Regions from separate parts of the Homo sapiens genome. Here region 2 is linked to region 1. Evidence: promoter capture Hi-C in human tissues and cell types (Jung and others, 2019). All regions are on one chromosome and are shown on one strand. Each heading gives the region's core, a stretch centred on a gene start or on the middle of the fragment in contact. The rest is flanking DNA. Distances are from core to core; before and after follow the strand shown.

Evidence for each region. The method cuts DNA at HindIII sites, captures the fragments that hold promoters and counts their contacts. A contact is called where the count stands out against the background at its distance.
Region 2: a contact is called between a fragment that was not itself captured here and the fragment with the promoter of EBPL in region 1, in 1 of the 25 tissues and cell types used here (spleen).

Annotation. Positions count from the first base shown.
Region 1 is chr13:49,687,039-49,694,165 of GRCh38, reverse strand. It overlaps EBPL (EBP like), which reads left to right and starts at 2,680. Exons shown (of 4, transcript NM_032565.5): 1 at 2,680-2,912. The coding sequence starts at 2,742. RefSeq lists silencers at 2,555-2,754, 2,785-2,924 and an enhancer at 2,388-3,385. The HindIII fragment of the contact is 15,697 bases long and covers 1-7,127 here.
Region 2 is chr13:48,988,109-48,994,710 of GRCh38, reverse strand. All of the region lies in intron 1 of FNDC3A (fibronectin type III domain containing 3A), which reads right to left. Among named protein-coding and RNA genes, the nearest start is that of FNDC3A, 15 kb to the right of the region's middle. The HindIII fragment of the contact is 5,787 bases long and covers 1,661-6,602 here.

The DNA of each region.
Region 1 (7,127 bases), core at 1,431-3,930:
GTGATGAGCTCAGTTTGGGTTATATTGAGACATCCAAGTGACTGTCAAGTAGGGCAGTTGGAAATACTGGTCTGGAGTCCAGAGAATAGGACCAGGCTAGAGATTTGAGTTCTCTGCAGGTTTTGCTGGTCATTAAAGCAGAGGGTAAGGATGAGACTGCCTGGATTTGGGGTCTGGAGTGAGAACAGGGCCGAGGACTGGGTTGTGGAGCTGCAGCATTCACTAGGCATTTGTAGTGGAAGATGCACTTGCAAAGGAAACAGAATGGCTAAGGAGGCTGTATTCTCAGAAAACCAAAGGAAAAATATTTCAGTGCTGGGATGCTGCTGAGAAGTAAACTACACTAAGAAAATGAACTGTTCTTGGGGTTCAGTGATGTGGAGGCCAGTAGTCACCTTAGTGAGAGCTATATCAGTGTGATAAGGCAGAAACCAGAGTAGAAAGGACTGAGGAGCAGGGTCAAGACATGAAGACAGGGGATCTGATCAGTTTTTTCATTAAGTTTCTATTTTGCTCTGAAGGGGAGGTGGGCCGAGTGGTCCCTAAAGGATGATAAGTTAGTTACAGGACAGGATCCAGAGCATAGGTGGCTAGATTGACCATACTCAGTCGCCAGTTATTTAACTGAGCAGCTAATATATGCCAAACTCTGTAATAGGTGCCAGGGATACAGCAATAAAAAAGCTAGCCACAACCCCTGGCCTTGAAGACTTACATTATAGTGGCAGGAGATTAGCAATAAGTGTGTAAACAAGGATCATTCTATCTGGTGTTAACTGCTATAAAAAATGGTATAGGAAGTGACTAAGGGAAAAATTTCTTGTGTTCAGTGCCAGCATTTTTTTTAATAACTGTAAAATACACATAAAATTTGCCATCTTAACCATTTTTAAGTGTGCAGCTCAGTAAAGTATGTTCACGTTGTTGTGCAACCAATCTCCAGAACATCATCTTGCAAATCAAACTATCCGAATAAATAACACTCCACTTTTCCCCGCGCCCCCCCCCCACTCCCGCCCCGCCCCACCCCTGGTAACCATCATTCTATTTTGTTTCTGCAAATTGATTATTTTAGATATTTCCTGTAAGTGGAATCATAAGTATGTTTTTGTGACTGGCTTATTTCACCGACCTCATAGGGTTGTTGTGATGTTAAATAATGTAGGTTTGTTCCCGGACCAAACTGGGGGTTGGGCAGCCCAATAATGAGGTGCAGATGAACTGGGGAAGAAGAGTTTTTATTTCTGCAACCGGTTACAGGGAGAAGGTCTGGAAATTATTGCCAGACCAACTCATAATTACAAAGTTTTTCCAGAGCGTATATACCTTCTAAGCTATATGTCTACGTGTAAGAGTGCATTCATCTAAAGACGTAAGTGATTAACAACTTCTAATCCTGAAGACCTTCCTCTGGAGCCTCAGTAAATTTACTTAATCTAAATAGGTCTGGGTGCTGGGATGATTACCCTTATTTTGTCTCTTGCTAAATCATGGAGGCTTGTGGAATTCCTCCAGACTCCCAATAAACTTGTTTTTGGAGGCCTGGGGAGTTTCTTCAGACCCCCAATAAAACTTGTTTAATCCTAAACGGGTCCTGTTAAAAATTCCTTAGTTATCTTGTCATGCTTCAAGGCCCAAGAAAGGCCTAGGCAAAACTCTTGGTGGGCTTTTGTTACATTCCAGACTTTGGTATATGGGCACTGACTCTTTCAGCTTTTAATTTTTTTTTTGTTTTTTGAGACGGAGTCTCGCTCTGTTGCCCAGGCTGGAGTGCAGTGGCGCGATCTCGGCTCACTGCAAGCTCCGCCTCCCGGGTTCACGCCATTCTCCTGCCTCAGCCTCCGGAGTAGCTGGGACTACAGGCGCCCGTCACCACGCCCGGCTAATTTTTTGTATTTTTAGTAGAGACGTGGTTTCGCCGTGTTAGCCAGGATGGTCTCGATTTCCTGACCTCGTGATCCGCCCGCCTTGGCAAAAAGTGCTGGGATTACAGGCGTGAGCCACCGCGCCCGGCCTCAGCTTTTAATATTTAATTTAACCACTCAGTGCTGAAGCAGTTGTGATGGAGGCCTGCGATAGTGAAACCTGGCCTGCCACAGGTTAAACGCATCTATCGCCAAGCCAATAGGACTTACCGCTCCTCTCACCCACCCTTCTACTTTTCTGGATTTTTAAGAAATGGAAAGATTGTCAGAGTAGGCCATAAAGGCTTTAAGCCGGCTGGTGGCTGAAAACTCCCTTGGCCCCCAGCCTCCCTGGTAAGGCTTGCTGCAGCCTAATTAAAACCTTTTGCCCCTAAAATTCTGCCCCGGTCTACTGGCAAAATTTCCACTACCTAGGCTTCACTTTGTGGCTTAAAGTTTGAGCCTTGTTAAAAGCGAAACAACATCAAAAGGTGTGGCCCTATTACCAATCCTTTGGGCTCGGTTTGGGAACAGGTTTGGTCGAGGCGGTTGCGCAAGTTGGTGAGCACGTTCCTTCTACGGAACCTCCATGGGCGGCACCTGGCAAAACCACCGGACTCAGCAGGCTGGCCAGGGTGCGAGGCGGGCACGGAATCCTCGCTCTGGCCCCGACCCGGCCGGGGAGCCCCGTCCCTCCCCGGACCGCCTTGGCCAATCAGCTCCGCTCCTCCTTGGCCATCCGGCTCCGCCCCTTCCCGGCCAGCCCCGCCCCGTCGTTTCTCTCCCTGCTTTCCTCTGCCGCATGGTCCTGGGCCGTTGGCGTCGGAAGCCTGAAGCATGGGCGCTGAGTGGGAGCTGGGGGCCGAGGCTGGCGGTTCGCTGCTGCTGTGCGCCGCGCTGCTGGCGGCGGGCTGCGCCCTGGGCCTGCGCCTGGGCCGCGGGCAGGGGGCGGCGGACCGCGGGGCGCTCATCTGGCTCTGCTACGACGCGCTGGTGCACTTCGCGCTGGTAAGTGCCATCGCCTAGACCCTGCACTCCCCATCCCAGAGAGTGGGAGCGGGGGCGGCAAGGCGGGGTGAGGGGGTCCTGCGGCTTTTTGCAGCGAGCTGGCCGCCCCTCCCCCTGCTGCAGGAAGTCTGTTAGCTGAGAGGCGCCTGGAGGCCGCGGCGGCCGGAGTTCTGATTCCCAGGTCTGTGAACAGAGCGCAGCTTACCTTGTGCTGCCGATTCCTCCACCAAACTTTAAAAAAATTCTGTACGTGCTATGTTAGTTTAGAAGATACCTCAGCTTCCTCGGCTTTGTAACCTGCACGTAACTGTTGAACTGGACATAATTGAGAGTAGAATTGAGGTCATTTTTAAATGCCCCAGAGGGGGCAAGGAGAGATGCTTGCTCCGGAGGCAGCAAGGCTATTGTCGCAAAACCCGAAGCCTTTGCCAAGACAAACGAAACACCCGTGTCTAATGTGTGCCAGGCGCATTACTGAGTTTAAAATTTCAGATCTTTACAGCATCCATAAATTAGTTATTATTGTTCCCCATTTTACAGAGGTGAAGGTAGGCGCTGCAAAATTAGGTGACTTTCCAGTGCCACACAGCTGGCATGATTCTGAGGCAGTCTAGTCTGGCTCCCAAGTTTGCACTCTGTGTATCAGTCGAGGTCTTAGGAAATATGTGTCCTTAGAGATTCAACCCATTTTATAAAATAGCCAGGAAGGTTGTGTTTAAGGCATTTATATTGAAATGCCCCGCCCCCCACCACACACGCGCACGCACACACACACACACACTTTTAAGTTTTTTTTAAACTATGCCCAAGTATCAGTTTGTTTTTTTTTTTTTTTGTAAAGTTGACCTTGTTTAACTCTAGACACACCTGTGGCTAATGTGAAGCCAAAGTCAGTAGTATTGAGAAAGCAAGCCGAGTTTTGGGTAATCATCGAGTTCTGTAAATGTTTACGGGTTGGCTTTGTGCCCATGACTGATGTTGCTGGAATTCTTTTTATTCTGATAATCAACATGTAGAGATAAGGGACAGTGAATGTTTCTCTCAACTCCTTTATTTATAGAATTCTTTTTTTTTTTTTTTGTCTTTTTTTTTGTTGTTGTTCTTGAGACAGAGTCTAACACTGTTGCCCAGGCTGGAGTGTAGTGGCACTATCTCGGCTCACTGCAACCTCCGCCCCTTGGGTTAAAGCTATTCTCCTGCCTCAGCCTCCCGAGTAGCTGGGATTACGGGCGCCCGTCACCACGCCCAGCTAATTTTTGTGTTTTTAGTAGAGATGAGGTTTCACTATGTTGGCCAGACTGGTCTCAAACCCCTAACATCAGATGATCTGCCCACCTTGGCCTCCCAAAGTGCTGGGATGACAGGCGTGAGCCACCGCCACCGCCACCAGCCGAGAATTGATTTTTAAGCTATCACTTGAACACAAGGTTTCCCACAGAACAAGGGAGATAAAGCAGATTGCTAGGCCCGGTTAGAAAAAATGTATAACAAAATGTATAACATAACAAAAATGTTGCTAGGCCCAGTGAGAGAAAACTGTGTAACATATTGGCTGGGTATAACTGTATATAGCATATCAGAATGTATATATATAAAAATGTATAACATATCGGACACAGTGGCTCATGCCTGTAATCCCAGCATTTTGGGAGGCTGAGGCGGGTGGATCACGAGGTCAGGAGTTCAAGACCAGCCTGGCCAACATGGTGAAACCCCGTCTGTACTAAATATACAAAAATTAGCCAGGTGTGGTGACGGTGCCCATAATCTCAGCTACCCGGGTGGCTGAGGCAGGAGAATTGCTTGAACCTGGAAGGTGGAGGTTGTAGTGAGCCATGATCAAGCCACTGCACTCCAGCCTGGGCAACAGAGCAAGACTCTATCTTGGGAAAAAAAAGAAAAATGTTTAACATACCTTAGACAAACAAAAAGCTGTAAAAATACTTAAACTATATGCGTGTGTTCACCACTTGGTTTAAGACTGTTTACTTTTCAAGCTCAGGTTGTTACAGGTAACACGACACACACCTCCTTTTGTGCCATTACCTACCCCAGCTGCAAAGTAGTCCACTGTGTGAATACACCATACCTTAGTTCTCCAAGTCTAAGACCCACATTTTTTCACATATTAGAAGAATCAACTACATCATGTAACTACTGTAGGCCATTTGATTGATATTTTAATGTCTCTAAATTGGGATGTATCTTATATTTGATGAATACGATCACTTAACCAGCCCATATTAGTGGACACATTTTTCTGTCATTACAAACAATGCATCTACCAACGTCTTTGTACATGTGTCTCAGAGATCAGTGGGGAGAGCACTTGAATTAAGCAGTTGAGGCTGCAAGAAAATACATGCCCATGTTGTCTTTGCTTGGGAGTTTATTGCAAGAATACCCAGAAGTGTGGGACAAGCTAAGACTAAGATGTAGAGCTTAGGGGAGAACCAAAATTAAAACTCACTTGTTCACTAGAAGATGAGTTGCCTCTCCTTAACCCGACACTTCTTTTTTTTTTTTTTTTTTTTTGAGACGGAGTCTCGCTCTATTACCCAGACTGGAGTGCAGTGGCGCAATCTCGGCTCGCTGCAAGCTCCGCCTCTCGGGTTCACGCCATTCTCCTGCCTCAGCCTCCTGAGTAGCTGGGACTACAGGCACCCGCCACCACGCCCGGCTAATTTTTTGTATTTTTTGTAGAGACGGGGTTTCACCATATTAGCCAGGATGGTCTCGATCTCCTGACCTCGTGATCTACCTGCCTCGGCCTTCCAAAGTGCTGGGATTACAGGCGTGAGCCACTGCGCCTGGCCACCCCCTGACACTTCTTAAAGAGAGGAGCTCTGTAGGTTTTTTGGCTGCCATCAAATTGAAAGCTATCCTGTTGGACAGTTTCAAGCCAAGCATTCCCAGGGGCAGTTCATTTCCCAGATGTCCAACCAGAGTGCAGTCACCTTGGGCCCCAGCACTGGTCATCAGTTCAGCTCGTTATGACTACAGCAGAGGGCAGGCTGACTTCCCATCAGCCTACCTGGAAGGAGCCATGGCAACATACTAGAAGAAGGAAATGGTGGGGTCACCATTCTGAGGTCGCTGTGGGCAGCCTAGGCACTGGTGCTTCATGGATAAAATTTTATCTCTTCTGCAATCTATGTATAGCATTCAGGCATGGCCAGAAACATGAGGCAAGATATGAATGCCTGTGTATGGAACACATCCTGTAGTCCAGATTGACAGGAGCACAGGGTTTACATAAGAAGTGGGAGGACCAGCTGGAAAGGTGACAGGTAAGAATTGTATTCTGTAGTGAGAAGCCACTGAAGGATTTCAAGCAGGGAAGTCACGTGGCCAAAGCAGATCTTCATAAAGATAATTTAGTGGTGATGTGTTAAGTCAGAAACTCTAGCGTCCGAGATTTTACCCAACTTAGAAGTTAACAAGGTAGTCCAGTTTGATTCCCCAAGGCCCAAACCCCACAGGACAACATAATGAAGGCCAGATGTTACTGCCTGTACATGCAGTGGGATGCGTTACAAGAAAGGAACTCCAGAACTACGCGTCCATCTTATTGTGAGCTGGTGGTGGCCTGTCCATACTTCTCTCTGGAGAGACCTTATCTTAGGAATGTAAACCTCTGAGGAGGAGAAGGTGAGGTCTTGATCTTTACCACCCTAGAACCTCTCTGGAGGGAGCTGTCTCCCAGGTTTACTACTCTGGAAAGGCTCATTATAGAAACATTCTTAAAATTGATATAAATGTCTTTGCTCAGAGACCCAGACAGTGCAGGATGTGAGATATTCATGGAGAATTGTCTCTCAACATGGTGCAGGTTGGATTGGAAAGGATGGAGTTGAGGGGCAAGAAGAGCAACAAAAAGCAACTGCTGTAGTGTGGGGAGTCATTTAAAAAAAAGAGAGAGGCAAGCTGAGGTGGTGTTGGAACTTAAAATGGGGAGGAAAGCTAACTGTGAGAGACTTTCCAGGGGAGAATGTGGTAAGTCAAAGTGGCCACTTGTAGATTGGGGGTGGACATGATCTTGGGGCTTAGGCCCTGAGCAACATGGGTAATGGTGATCATGTTAACTAAGACAGCAAAATCTGGCTTTAGAACTATGAGTCGGGGGTCCTCGTGTGCAGTTAAGAGAGAATAGTGCTGGGCAGTGGCTCACACCTGTAATAAGCACTTTGGGAGGCCGAGGCAGGATTGCTTGAG
Region 2 (6,602 bases), core at 3,305-5,804, 700 kb after region 1:
CGCTTCCCAGGTTCAAGCAATTCTCCTGCCTCAGCCTCCGGAGTAGCTGGGATTACAGGCATGCGCCACCACGCCCAGCTAATTTTTGCATTTTTAGTAGAGATGGGGTTTCACCATGTTGGCCAGGCTTGGTCTCAAACTCCTGACCTTGTGATCTGCCCGCGTCGGCCTCCCAAAGTGCAGGCATTACAGGCGTGAGCCACTGCGCTCAACCACAGCAAATATTTCAGTATGTATCTCTGAAAGACAGGAACTCCTTTTTAAAACATAATTACAAAACCATTACCATACATACACTTCAATAATTCCTTAAATCATCAAATATGTAGTCAGTGTTCAAATTTTGCATTGTCTTGTTTTTATTAAAACTTGTTTGAATCAGGATTTGTATCAGATGTGCACACTACTATTTGCCATGTCTTTAAAAACCTCTTTTAATCTAAGTACCATCCATTTGACTGTCAAGCCTTTAATAATGTTTTAAAAGCAAGTAATTTTTTTTATTTCTGAAGACCACATTGGTCTACTTTTTTATTTTTGAAAAAATCAATAATTTATATCAGTCCTTAAAAGTGACTTTAACTAGATCATATATAGCTGATGATCTTTTCATCTGGATATATGAAGAGACAATCAATAGAGGTAATTTAAAGAACATTAGCAAGATTACACTTTCCATTTTAATTTGATTAGAAAAATCTCAAATAGTCAATTTCTAAGATTAACAAATGTAATATCATTCTAGTGAAACACAGTTTTCTATATCTTTATTCATAATTGCTGTTAAGATACTAAAACTTCATTACTATCTACCATTATTTTGCCTAAGAGCACATTCTGGGCACATTTCACTCTCTTGATCAAAAATTTAAAAAGGAGTCATGGAAGGATTTTATATTATGAGGATTTTTTTAACCCACAGAAAAGCTGAAATAACTGAACAGCAAACACCCATATACTTGCCACCTAGGTTCTAAAATTGACAGGATTTAATTGCATGTATTCCTCTAGCGATCTTTTTTAAATGCACTTCAAAGCAGCAGACATCAGTATACTTCACCCCTAAACACTTTTGCATGTGTTACTAGCATTCAAAATTTTTAGTTCCTTAAAAAAAAGTTCATGTATGGTAAAATGTACACATCTTCATTAAAAATTTTTTTGTCAAATTCCTTTTACCAGAAATGTACAAATCTTAAGTGTGCTATCATATGAGATTTTTAAAAATGAAACTACTATAAGTATCTAAGAATCTAAAGTCCTATTGTTGCTCTAAGATCACAGCTTTCAAATCCTGGTATGTATCAGAATGACCTGCAGGGATTATTAAAACAGATTCCTGGGCCACACATACAGAGTTTCTGACTCAACAGGTGTGTGGTGGGGCCCAGTAAATCACATCTCTAATAAGTTCCCAGGTTAGGCTGATGCTGCTAGTCTCTGGGCCATACAACTCTAAGACTAAGTAAGTTTTTACATTAAGTACTAACTGATAATAAGGATGTAAAGTTGATAACAATGTAAGGTGTATACCTCATTCTGGAAAGCCTCATCCCAGATGTGAATACATTATCCTTCAACGAGAAACAGATAAAAATACTGATCTAAGGATAAGAAAGTATTCGTAGAGGAATCAAGTTTAATGAAGAATTTTTAATTGCCTTTGGATATTATGGTCAAATCAATATACTAGGAGAGTATGATATACTATCCTTAGATTGAAGTTGCTATTTCCTGTAGATTAAACAAAGTTGAAACTTTCAAATACTCCTGGGAAATGGCAGAGTAATGAGTTAAATGTATTAAACAAACACGCATCAAGTAGTTGTTATAACTACTTGGTTGGTGCAAAAGTAATTGTGGTTTTTGCCATTACTTTTAATGGTACAAATGGTACTTTTAATTGAAAGCAATGGCAAAAACCAGTTACTTTCGCACCAACCTAATACAATGTGTCAACTACTCTTGATTTTTGAAATAGCTTTACTGAGGTATAACTGACATATATCAAATTGCACATGTTTAAAAGTGTACAATTTGATAAATTTTGACACATAAATACACCTGTGAAACTGTTACCATAATCAAGATAATGAACTTACCCGTCATCTCTCAAATTTTCCTACTAACCATTTGTAAACTGGAGACTTTGCATTTCCATGAACAATGATGTTGTTTTCATGTGCTTATCTGCCATCCAGGTATATTTTTGGTTGACTATTTGTTGGATTATTTTGTCCATTTAGTTACTAGACTGTTTTCTTATTATTTAGTTTTGATAGTGCTTTATATATTCTAGATAGCAGTCCTTTACCAGATAAGTGATTTACAAATATTTTTCTCCCAGTCTGTGGCTTGTTTTTATATTCTCTTACCAATGTCTTTTGAAGTTTTAAATTATGATAAAGTACAATTTATCGATTTGTCATTTTATGAATGGTGCTTTCAATGCTATACTTAAGAAATCACCTAATGCAAGGTCACAGAGATTTTCTCCTGTTTTAAGAAATTTCATAGTTTTAGGCTTTACATTCTTTCTACTTTCCATTGAGAGGGGTATTGAAATCTCTGCTAAAATTGCATTATTTGTATACAGACAATCCCCAACTTGTGATGGTTCAACTTACAATTTTTGGACTTTATGATGGAGCAAAAGAGATACACATTTAGTAGAAACCATACATCAAGTATCCATACAAGCATTCGGTTTTCCACTTTTCAGTATTCGATAAATTACACGAGACATTCAACACTTTATTATAAAATAGGCTTTGTGTTAGATGATTTTGTTCATCAACCATATGATAATGTAAGTGTTGTGAGCACATTTAAGATAGGCTAGGCTAAGCTACGATGTTCAGTAGGTTAGGTGAATTAAACTCATTTCTGACATATTTTAACCAGGTGGGTTTATTGAGACATAACCTCATCATGAATTAAAGAGCATCTGTATTTCTCTTTGCAGTTCCAGCATATATTCAGAAACATTCTCTCTCTTTTTTTTTTCCTTTTTTCTTTTTTTTGAGACAGGGTTTTGCTGTGTCACTCAGGCTGGAGTGCAGTGGTGTGAGCATAGCTCACTGCAGCCTCAACCTCCCAGGTTCAAGCAATCCTCCCACCTCAGCCTTCCTAGTAGCTGGGTCTACAGGCGTGTGCCACCACACCCAGCTAATTTTTGTATTTTTTTGTAGAGACGTAGTTTCACCACATTGCCCAGGCTGGTCTCGAACTCCTGGACTCAACTGATTCAACCCCCTCAGCCTCCCAAAGAGCTGGGATTACAAACATGAGCCACTGCCCCCAGGCCAGTTCCTATACTAGATGCATATTTATAATTGCATGCCCTCTTAATTAATCCCTTTACTAGTATGAAATAATCCTCTTTATCTCTGGTAAGAATTCTTTGTTCTGTAACCTAACTTCTGGTTTAACTTACTGATTTCAGTTTTCTTTTGGATAGTGTAAGCATGGCATATCTTTTTCCATCCTTTTAACTCACTTAAAGTGGATTTCTTGTAGATGTGAAATATTTGGGTCTTAATTTTAAAAAATTGTATCCAACAATCCCTGACTTTTAATTGTGGTGTTTAGGCCATTTATATGTAATGTGATTGTTGATACGACTGGATTTACATCACCATCTTGCTATTTGTTTCAAATGTTCTTTGTCCCCTTTTCCCTCTTCATCTGCTTCATTTTGAATTATTTCCTATTATACCATCCCCTCTCTCTTGTTGATTTATAGGCTACAACTCTTTGTTACTTGAGTGGTTTCTTTAAAATTTACAATACACATGTTTTACTTATTACTGTATACCTTCAAGTAATACACTACTTCAGGAATATGTATCAGAACCTTACAACAATAAATCTGCAATTTCTCTGGGATTTTTGCTATTATTGTATATTTTACTTTTACATGTTTTAAACCTCATGTTGTCATTTTTTAGGGGAGGGCAGGGTCTCTATTGCCCAGGCTAGAATGCAGTGGTGTGATCTCAGCTCACTGCAATCTCCGCCTCCTGGGTTCAAGCGATCCTCCCAACTTAGCCTTCCGAGCGGCTGTGACTACAAGCATGCACCACCATGCCTGGCTAATTTTTTTTTTTTTTTTTTTTTTTTGGAGAGACAGGATTTCACCATGTTGCCCAGGCTGGTCTCAAACTCCTGGGCTGAAGCAATCTGCCTGCCTTGGCCTCCGAAAGTGCTGGGATTACAGGCACGAGCCACCACACCTGGCAACTGTCATCATTTTTATATTAAACAGTCATTTGTCTTTTAAAGATATTCAAATAATAATTTTTTTTAAATCCTATATATTTGCCCAGATAGTTACCACTTCCAGTACTCTAAACTCCTTGTGGCCAAGTTTCCATGTGGTTTAATTTTCCTTCTGCTTGAAGGACTCTATTTAACATGTCTTTTAGTTCATAAATGAAAGTGATAAATTATTTCAGCTTTTGTATATTTGAAATCTTTATTTTGCCTTTATTTTGAAAGACAGTTTGGGTAAAAAGTCCCAGGTTGACAGTTTTTGCAAAAAAATGTTTTAAAGATATTGCTTCATTGTCTTCTAGCTTACATTGCTTCTAATGACAGATCTGATGTCACCCTTATCTTTGTTCTGTTTTTCTTTGGCTGCTTTTAAGATTTCCTTTATGGGCCAGGCACGGTGGTTCACGCCTATAATCCCAGCACTTTGGGAGGCGAAGGTGGGCGGATCACGAGGTCAAGAGATGGAGACCATCCTGGCCAACATGGTGAAACTCCATCTCTACTAAAAATACAAAAATTAGCTGGGCATGGTGGCATGCACCTGTAATCCCAGCTACTCGGGAGGCTGAAGCAGGAGAATCGCTTGAACCTGGGAGGCGAAGGTTACAGTGAGCCAAGATTGTGCCACTGCACTCTAGCCTGGCAAAAGAGCGAGACTTTGTCTCAAAAAAAAAAAAAAAAGTTATCTTTAAGTGATTTGATTATGATGTGTTTTAGCAGAGTTTTATTCATCTTTCTTATGCTTATTGTGCTTATTGGTTTATAGTTTATATCTATTTTGGAAAATAGCCATTATTTCTTCAAATACTTTTTCAGTTATTGTCTCCAAATTCTATTTTCTTCTGTGCTTCATTTTGGATAGTTTCTATTGCTGTATCTTCATGTACACTTATCTTTTCTTTGACAAAGTCTAACATGCCATTAATGTAGTATGTCTTTGACACGTAATTTTAATCAGACAGTATCTCTATTTAACATGTTCAATCTTTTTGTTAGCTTCTCCAACAGTCATAACTGTTTTAATGACTATCATCATCAGTATCATTTGAAGGCCAATTTCAAGTGATTAATTTTTCTCAATATGGTTTGTATTTTCCTGCTTCTTTGCAGACTCAGTAATTTGAACTGCATGTAAGATACTGTTAACTTTATCTTGTTGGCTGTTGGATATTTTTGTATTTCCATAAATAATCTGGAGATTTGTTATAACATGTGGCTAAGGGACTCGGACAAAGTTTGACTCTTTGGGACTTGCTTTTACGATGGATTAGGCAAGAACAGAGCTGCATTTAATATGTAATTAATTTTTCCCCACTACTAATGCAAAACCCTCCAGAGTACTCTACTGAATGCCTTGTGAATTATGAGGCTTTCTGTTCTAGCTAGTGGAAACAGGCACTTCTTCTGGCCCTGTGTGAGCTTGGATACTGTTCTATATACAATCTTTTTAGTTGGCTCTTTCTCCAGCCCTGTGTAGTTTCCTTAAATGTATATGTTTATCCATACTTTGCTGAACACTTAAGGTTTTCATGTCTGATAGCTTTAACTTATAAATTACTATAAGCTTTTTCTTATCTTTTTTTTTTTTTTTGAGACAAGTTCTCACTCTCTCACCCAGGCTGGAGTGCAGTGGCACAATCATGGCCCACTGCAGGCTCCTGGGCTTAAGCAATTCTCCCACCTCAGCCTCCAAAGTAGCTGGAACTACAGGCATGTGCCACCATGCCTGGCTTACTTACTTATTTACTTATTATTTAGTAAAAACAAGGTCTTGCTATGTTGCTCAGGCTGGTCTCAAACTCCTTATATCAAGCAATCCTCCCACCTCAGCCTCCCAAAGTCCTGGGACTATTAAGTGTGAGCCAAGCACCTGGCCATACTACAAGCTTTTAAATTATAAATTACTATATTATGGCTTTTATCATTCTCATATGCAATTTAGATTCTGGAGAAGGTTGTTTAACCCTTTAATGTATAATGATACATATCTGCAGTAACAATATTTTTGGCTTTACCTGTTGCTAAAGTAGGTGTATTCATGAACATTCCAATTTGGCTTGGATGTTGACATTTCATCAGTGATGTACTGTTTATGAATTTATGCTTTGGGGTGGAGAGTTCTGTAGATGTCTGTTAAGTCCACTTGATCCAGAGCTGAGTTCAAGTCCTTAATATCCTTGTTAATTTCCTGTCTCGTTGATCTAATACTGACAGTGGGGTGTTAAAAGTCTCCCACTATTACTGTGTGGGAGTCTAAGCTTCTTTGTAGGTCTCTAAAAACTTGCTTTATAAATCTGGGTGCTCCTGTATTGGGCACATACATATTT